Linked DNA regions of Homo sapiens: region 1 is linked to region 2. Evidence: promoter capture Hi-C in human tissues and cell types (Jung and others, 2019). All regions are on one chromosome and are shown on one strand. Each heading gives the region's core, a stretch centred on a gene start or on the middle of the fragment in contact. The rest is flanking DNA. Distances are from core to core; before and after follow the strand shown.

Region 1 (4,022 bases), core at 838-3,337, 370 kb before region 2:
GCATTATCCCCATTTTATAGATGGAGAAACTGGCCCCAAAAGGTGGGAACTTGTCCAAGACGTCACAGGTAGCAAGAGGTACTTTTACCTGGCTCCAAATCTGTGTTCTTTCCACTGACAAATGAGATATGGGATATGGTGCATCTTTACAGTACTATAATAAGTATTGGCGTATAACATTATTTTCAAGGAACTCCAAGGGCCACAGGAGCTGACAGGTTTTTCAATTAATATTCCCAACATGAATGAGATGCCTCATTCCTCAGTTTCCTCACGTGTACTATAAGGCTAGTACCTGCTTTGTTGGGGTATGGTTGGCTCGTGTGCATTAAGTCAACAAATCCCTAGTTGATAGGGTTTGGCTGTGTCCCCATCCAAATCTCATCTTGAATTGTTCCCGTAATCCCCACGTGACATGGGAGGGACCCAGTGGGAGGTAATTTAATCCTCGGGGCGGCTACCTCCGTGCTGTTCTCGTGATAGCGAGTGAGTTCTCACGAGATCTGATGGTTTTATAAGGGGCTTTTCCCTCTTGTTCGGCACTTCCTGCTGCCACGTGGAGAAGGGTGTGTTTGTTTCCCCATCTGCCATGATTATAAGTTTTCTGAGGCATCCCCAGCCATGCTGAACTGTGAGTTATTAAACTTTTCCTTTATAAATTACCCGGTCTCGGGTATGTCTTTATCAGCAGTGTGAGAACGGACTAATACACTAGTACTCACTATGCGCCGGGCACTGGAGATCTAATAGAGGGGAACATGAAGCTTACTTTCCTGGGGAACATAAGACAGTTTCAGACAGTGATGAGTGAAGATGTGAAGGAAAACCAGAAACACAGGAGATGAAGAGAGTATATCCCAGGCAGGCTGTGGCGTGCGAAGTTGGCGAAGAAGAAACATCCCCGACAGCAAGGCTGGTGTGGCCGGCATTAGTGAGCAAGGGGGAGGAGCAGAACATGAGATGGGAGAGGCGGGGCCGGATCCTGCAGGGCCCTGTTACAAGGTTGGGTTTTGTTCTTAATGGGACTCAGGGTTTTTAACAGGGTGATACCTGATTGTTTTGAAAGGGTTGCATTGGTTGCTGGCAGAAAACCATAGAGGGCAAGAGTGGAAGCAAGAAACCTGGAAGTGAAAAGGCGACCGAAACCAGCTGGTCCAGTAAAAACAGTAGCCAGGGTGGAAGCTGTGGCGAGCATGCTCCAACTGCTTGGCACAGGACCTGGCAGCCACTGAGGCAGGGAACGCGGTGGAGAAGCAGGCTTGTCTGGGGGTAACACCCGAGGCTCGTTGTCTCATGGTCACGGAGATCAAGGACAGGGACCCACAAAGAGTGAGGTGAAGAGCAGAAATTTAATAGTTGAAAGAAAGAGAATAGCGCTCTGCTACAAGAGGGGTCCTGGAAAAATGGGTTGCTGGATCTGCAGTGAAATGCAAGGGAGTTTTATAGATGAGCTGGTGAGGAGGTGCTGTCTGATCTACATAGGGTGTGAAAAACTGGTTGGACCCAGGTGTGCCATTGGCACAGGGTATGAATCTCGGCACCCCCACCCCAGTCTTTTATTATGCAGGCGAGTTCTCTGCCTGAGCTGTGCCATGTTGCCCATTTCTTTATTACTGTACACGTGGTAAAAGAAAAGGGAAGATGGAGCCTCGTGTTAGACATGCCTGGCCCCCAGTTAGCCCTTCTCTATTGGCACAGCTACCAGCATTCCCCCGTGCAAGCTTCCAGCTTCCTTATCTATGTTTGCAGCTGGATTTTTCAGGCTGCTCTTTGTTAGAAAAGAAATGATTTCTGGGGCTGCTTTTTTGTTAGAAGGGAAATTCCGCCGAGGACTCTTTTGCCCTGAATATCTGCCTAAATAATTTCTATCTCCGGTATCAGTGGCCAGTAGCAGTGGGGGTAGCCGCAGCTGTCAGGAAGCAGTAATGATCTTTGCAAGTATCAAGAGGGAGAGTGGCAGATATTGGAGACTGGAGAAACGTCACAAATGCCCCCAGGAGGAGAATCGTCCATCTGCACACTTAGCCCTTGGCCCACAGTGGGAAATAAAGGGTTAACAAATGTTCCTAGGTGAACAGTGGATTCCTTTCCTAGTTCCTCTCACAAAGGGCTAAGGAACCCTCTGCACTTTCAGATCCCTTGACGTCCACCGGGGAGCTGCAGGTGCTTTGCAGTGCTGAGCCAACAGCACTAGCAGTTTTGTGTGAATCCCCAGCTAAACCCAACCAGATGAGGATTATAATCTCCATTTTATGGTGGAGGAAACACTGGGCAATAGGAAATATGTCCTAGGGTCACAATAAGTGACAGAGCTGGGATTCAGACCCATGCTTTTAACAACAGCAGCTGACTTTATAGAGTTACGTTCTTTCCATGCATTAACCCATTTTACAGAAGAAGCAAATGAGACACAGAGAAATTAAGTCCTGCCCCAGGCCACTCAGTTAGTAAATGGCAGAACCAGGGAAATGTGATATGACACCGAGATGCGACCAACACTTGACACAGGCCCACATTCCTGGAACATTTAAAAGTGCTTTTGTGGCCAGTCCATGGGGCCAAGAGAGGTAGTTCCAGAGTAGAGTTGCTTTAAAGCTGGCATAGTGAGTGCTCCAAACAAGCTGTGTTCTTATTGTTGGATGAGCTGAGCTGACCACGCCCACACCACGTGCTACCTTAGGGGTTGGGAACATCTACATTAGCGAAGGCATGCAGGGCATAATCTCTGATTTAACTGCAAGAATCCACCATATTCCTGACCCTGGTTCCAATAAAACTTTATTTACAAATCAGACAGTCGGCCCGTGGGCGATAGTTTGCCAATTTGATTTTTAAAACCATCCCATTAAGATATTTTTTGGATTATTGAGTTTTTGGATGCCTCCTTAAATTTGTGCCTCACTTGCTTCACCCTAGTCCTAACCCAGCTGTCACTGACTGCCAGAGCCCTGATGGAGGAGCCCATGTTCTTACAAGGGTCTGCACCTGCTGTGGTTTGAATGTGTTCCCCGTATTTCATGTGTTGGAAACTGAATGCCCAACTTAGCAGTATTGAAAGATGGGGCCTTTAAGAGGTGATTGGATCCTAAGGCCTCTGCCCTCATGAATTGATTAATCCACGTGTGGACTAATAGATTAATGGGTTATTATGAGAGCAGGACTGGTGGCTTTATAAGAGGAAGAGAGACCTGAGCTAGCACACCCAGCCCCCTTGTCACATGATGCCATGTGCCGCCTCAGGTCTCTGTAGAGTCCCCACCTTCAAGAAGGCTGTGCCCCCACCAGATGTGCCCCCTCGACCTTGTATTCCTCCATAACAGTAAGAAATAAACTCCTTTTCTTTATAAATTACCCAGTTTTAAGTATTCTGTTAAAAGCAATAGAAAACAAATGAATGCAGCCTGAACCTCTTGGGGAACTAGGAGTCTTCCCTTGCGTCCTTTAATTCTAGGCACCGCAATTTCAATGGACTGTGCACTTTTCTGCCACCAGGGGTCGTAAGTTACTGTCATTCTTGGTGCGAACAGGTAAACCTCCCTTCACTTTCTCTCTTCTCTTCCTCCTCCCTCCTCCCTCCTTCCCCTCTTTCTTCCTCCCTTTCTTTTCTCCCCTTCTCCTTCCTCTACTTCCATCTTTTCTTCCCAAGTCCATGCCCCTCTCTCCCTCCCTCCTTTCCTTGAACGTGTTCATTTATTCACTCAACGCCACCTTAGCTGAGCACCTAAGTGTAGCAGGCACTGTGCTAATTATGCACCATGTAATGAGGGAGACGGACGTGAGGATGTCTAGTTCCTTCCAGTCTTAATGTTTTCATCCATTCTCTCTTCACTCACTCCTTCACTGGGTACTTAGTGAGCACATGGGCTGCGTCTGGCTCTTCTGAAGAAGCTGCAGGGATGACAAGGTCCAGCCGCGGCCTGGGAGGCCCTTGTCCTGGCCCCTTCCGTTCTTCCTTACTCAGCAGCCCAGGGGACCCTTTTAAAGCCAGAACATGCCACTTCTCTATTCACAAATGTGCTGGC
Region 2 (3,834 bases), core at 589-3,088:
AAAAATAAAAGAGAGAGAAGAGAGAGACCAGAGCAAAAGAGAAAGATGTGACAACAGTTCATTCAATAACATTTATTGAGCACCTACTGTGTGCATGCAGATGTGACAGCAACAGTGTCCCAGACCAAAACAACCTGTGGACAACTAAGTAGGTCTGACTCCAGAGATGAACAGCACACACCAGAGCCTGGAGGAAGAGGCAAAGAAGGAATGGGAACTGGAGCAAACAGCAAAAGTGAGTCAGAGCGGGAGGAGAGAACCAAAAGTGAAGAGATGCACCTGGAAGGCTGGCCTCTGGTCTCTGAAAGCATGAAAGAGTGGAGGCTAAGAATAGAGAGGAGAGGGGAAGAGAGAGATGGAGAAAAGGAAGGCGATAGAAAGGCAAGGCTGGAAGAGATCAATGAAGGGAAATAAACCAAGAGAAGGACGTAGGGGAGGGAACAGACTGGCACAGTGGAGAATACATCTCAAAATAAATAAATGAATGATGGAGTTTAGTAGGAGGGGCCAGAGGGGCAGCCAGCAGGAGAGGTGATTCCAATCATCAGCAAGACGGACTAGGGTGTGGAGATGGAGATGGAAATTGGGGAAGGAGGCGAGGAGGAGAGAAGGATAGGGGCGAGGTAGAGCTGGGGGTCCTGGAGGGCCCTGCCCCCTCTTTGCCATGAACTTCAGCAGCTGCTTGTGGGTGATTAAATGGCTGGTCATTGGCAGCTTGGCGGGACAGAGGTCTGCAGCTGTCCAGTCTCCTGTTATCCTTCACTCACCTATCTGGAAGCCATGGGGAATAGGGGGGCGGGCAACTCCTAAGGGGACCTACAACCCAAGACAAAGGGTGGGTCTATGGGAGTCACTGGTCCTATCCTACCATCAACGACCTCATATTGGGAACTCAGGAGTGGGGTGGGAGGGTCTCCTCCATTAGGCCTCATCCCAGAGAGATGAAGTAGTAAGGAGAGCCAGGCAGCCAGGAGAAAGAAACAGGGCCAGGTGGAAAAAACATCAGGGAGCAGACCAGCCGGATTTTTAAAAGAACGGAAAACCCAACCAGCAAGGAGTTTCTGGGCAGTGGGAAGATTTTATTGGGAGACTTCTCCAGGTCAAGGTGGCACCAAGTTAAGGATGGAGGTGTCTTGTTTTGCCTGCTTACTTTGTTGGTTGCAAGGATGTCCAGCGGGACTCTCCAGAGGAAAAGCCCACAAGTTTCTCTCCCGGGGACACCCGACCTCCCACCTGCCTGGAGACTCAGCCCTGGGCACCTGGTCGGTGTCCACCTCAATGCACAGTGACTGTTTCTGAACTGGCAGATCTGGTCTGTGCAAGGTGCCTTTCTGGGCAGCAAGCCGGGGCGGCCACTGTTCGAGAAGCCTGCTCCTACCCTGGCCTGCGCCCCTGCTCCTCTGAAGGCGGCCTCCCGCAGTAGTCAGGGGGCGGAAATGGGAAGCCCTATTCGCAGTAAAATCAGGTGGGGAAATAGGCTCTGGTCTCAAACTGCGGCCACCTGGGGAGCTGCCAGGCGAGGAGGTAGATGGTCCCCCTCCTGGGGGCGCTCCCTTCGCGCGGATCTGGGGTTGGAGGAGGGAGGGGCACTGTCCCCTGGGGGGTTTCCTGGGACTGGGCCGCCCGAGAGAGGGAAAGGCTGTCCCCTCCTGGTGTAGGAGGGGCGCGATCCGGGGGGCGGGGGCTGGGGTTCCCCGGCTGCGGGGGTCCGGGCCGGCGGCCGCCTGCGGCTTGGCGCTGCGCGGCTCCTGCCCGGCGGGCCCTGCATTCTCCGAGTCTCCACCAGAGGCTGCGGGAGGAAGGAAGGGATCCGTCCCTTGCACACTTCCCCCCAGTCAGACACGCACACTCCCTCGCTCCCGCTCGCTCGCTCACTCCCTCGCTCTCTCGCTCTCTCGCTCTCTCGCTCACACACACGCGCGCACACGCCGCCGCGGCTCCCCCTCTCGCTCCCGCTCTCCCTCCGGCTCCTGCGGGCGGCCGCGGGGCTCCGGACTCGCCCGCTGCCCGCGCCGGGGCTCCCGCCCCACGCAGCGTCCCGAGGCGGCAGGACTAGGGGGAGCCCCGGGCCGCTCCCCGAGGTAAGAGCGCGGGGTGCCGCGGGAGGAGCGGCCGGATCGCCGCCGAGGGGAGGCTGCCCGGCAGGGAGGGAGCCCCCTGGCCGGCGGGAGCGGCCGGGCAGGCGGCGCGGGGGGCGAGCCTCCAGCCGCAGGAGGAGCCGGGGTGCCTGCGCCCGGCCCTGCGCGCCCCCTCCTCTCGGCCGGGAGGGCGGGGAGGGAGTTTCCCACGTCCAAACTTTCCCCGGCGCGGAGCCGAGCCGCCTCTCGGCCCGAAGCCCGCAGCTCCCACCCGTCCCCACAACCTCGTCCGCCGCGCGCCCGGGAGCCTCCGGGACCCCCGCGGGCCGAGGGGTGGCAGCGCCAGGGGCCGAGCCGGCGCGCCAAAAGGGGCTGGGAAGGTGGCGCACAGCCCTGACGCGAGGGCTGGGACCCAGGCGTTCCCGGTCCCCCAACCCTGCTAGCGGGGCTCGGCTCCCCGGCCCCTCCCAGAGGCGGGGTCCGGGGCCGGGAAAATACCGCACGGCGCGAGCGTGTGCGCGCGGTGTGTGTGTGCGAGGTCGTGCCGCGTCCGGGGACACCCGGAGGCTGACTCCAGCCGCGGCGACACGCACGGTTCTGGTCCCCTCTGAGCCGGGGAGGCGGCCCACAGGGACCCCTGCCGGCCCCACCGGCGCGACCCCCCCTGCCCTATGGCCGTCGGGCGGGCTGGCGGTGAGCGAGAGCCAGCGCTGCTCTCTTCCTTAGGACCCGACTCCGGAGACACCGTCCCCGCTGGGGAAGAAGGACGGGGCCCCCGACAGCCTAACGTCCAAAGAGAGCGCCACTTAGGGCTAACCCTCGGGGGCCGCGGCGTTTACTGTGAAGAGTGGACTGCGTGGGCGCGCGGGGTGCCGGGCAGCCCTGGGTGGGCACAGTGTGGACCCGTCTCGCTCGCGCCTCCCCGCTGCCTCTTCTCTGGCAACGTCGGGCCCTGTCCCAGGCGGGGCTGCAGAGGGTAGGGCTGATCCAGGATCCCCCGAGGTCTCCCCGAGGTGCAGGGCACCCCCTTGTGGCGGGCAGAGAAGCTGCTGTTTGAAGCTGCTCAGGTCTTCCGAGGTGCTCGCTCCTTGGAACCTCTTCTCTCCAAACCCTTCGGGCGTCGCCAGGGTTGCGCATGCCAGCTTCTTTTTCCGTGGGGCTGATTCCAGCACTCCCCAGGTTTCTGGGGCTGGCCGAGGTGCCCCCAGCACAGGCAGCGGCTCATTTGAGGGCTTTGGCTGTTGCCAGCTCTCTCTCCCTCTCCACCCAGGTTCAGGATCTCATCCTCTTCTCCCACTGGTCAGCGCCAATACCCTATATCAGCATCACCACTGCCCTAGGGCCCAAAGGCTCCTCCCTAACCACCGCGACTCTCTGTCCTTCATTTGTATCCCGTATATGTGTCCATCAGTGCCCACTCCGTCCCCCTCAGTTGCCCCTAGTCTACAGCCCTTGTTGAAACTTGGCCTCTACACCCATAGTGACATCCTTTGGTCTTTGCCCACCAATGACCATTTCCTCGTCCCCCCCAACCCCGACCCATCTTCTATCCTGTCTGCCTCAGTTTTTCTGTAGCACTCAACTGTTCCCTGCCCCAGCCATTTCTCTACTTCACCCTTATTTCCCTCCTTGTCCCAGTGTCTGGGACACTCCTCTTCCATTCCTCCTGGAAGGGAAGGGCATTGCCAACATTTAAACACTGCTTCCTGGAGATGTCTGTGTGCCCTTCCCGGTCCACCACTGCCAGTGCCTCGGG

The links. The method cuts DNA at HindIII sites, captures the fragments that hold promoters and counts their contacts. A contact is called where the count stands out against the background at its distance.
Region 1: a contact is called between a fragment that was not itself captured here and the fragment with the promoter of CDH22 in region 2, in 2 of the 25 tissues and cell types used here (dorsolateral prefrontal cortex and spleen).

What each region holds. Positions count from the first base shown.
Region 1 is chr20:46,681,005-46,685,026 of GRCh38, reverse strand. TP53RK (TP53 regulating kinase) reads left to right here. Exons shown (of 2, transcript NM_033550.4): 2 at 1-662. It also overlaps a transcript of SLC13A3 not described here. Among named protein-coding and RNA genes, the nearest start is that of TP53RK-DT, 6.3 kb to the left of the region's middle. RefSeq lists an enhancer at 1,216-1,727. The HindIII fragment of the contact is 7,307 bases long and covers 1-4,022 here.
Region 2 is chr20:46,306,502-46,310,335 of GRCh38, reverse strand. CDH22 (cadherin 22) reads left to right here and starts at 1,838. Exons shown (of 12, transcript NM_021248.3): 1 at 1,838-2,081. The HindIII fragment of the contact is 29,361 bases long and covers 1-3,834 here.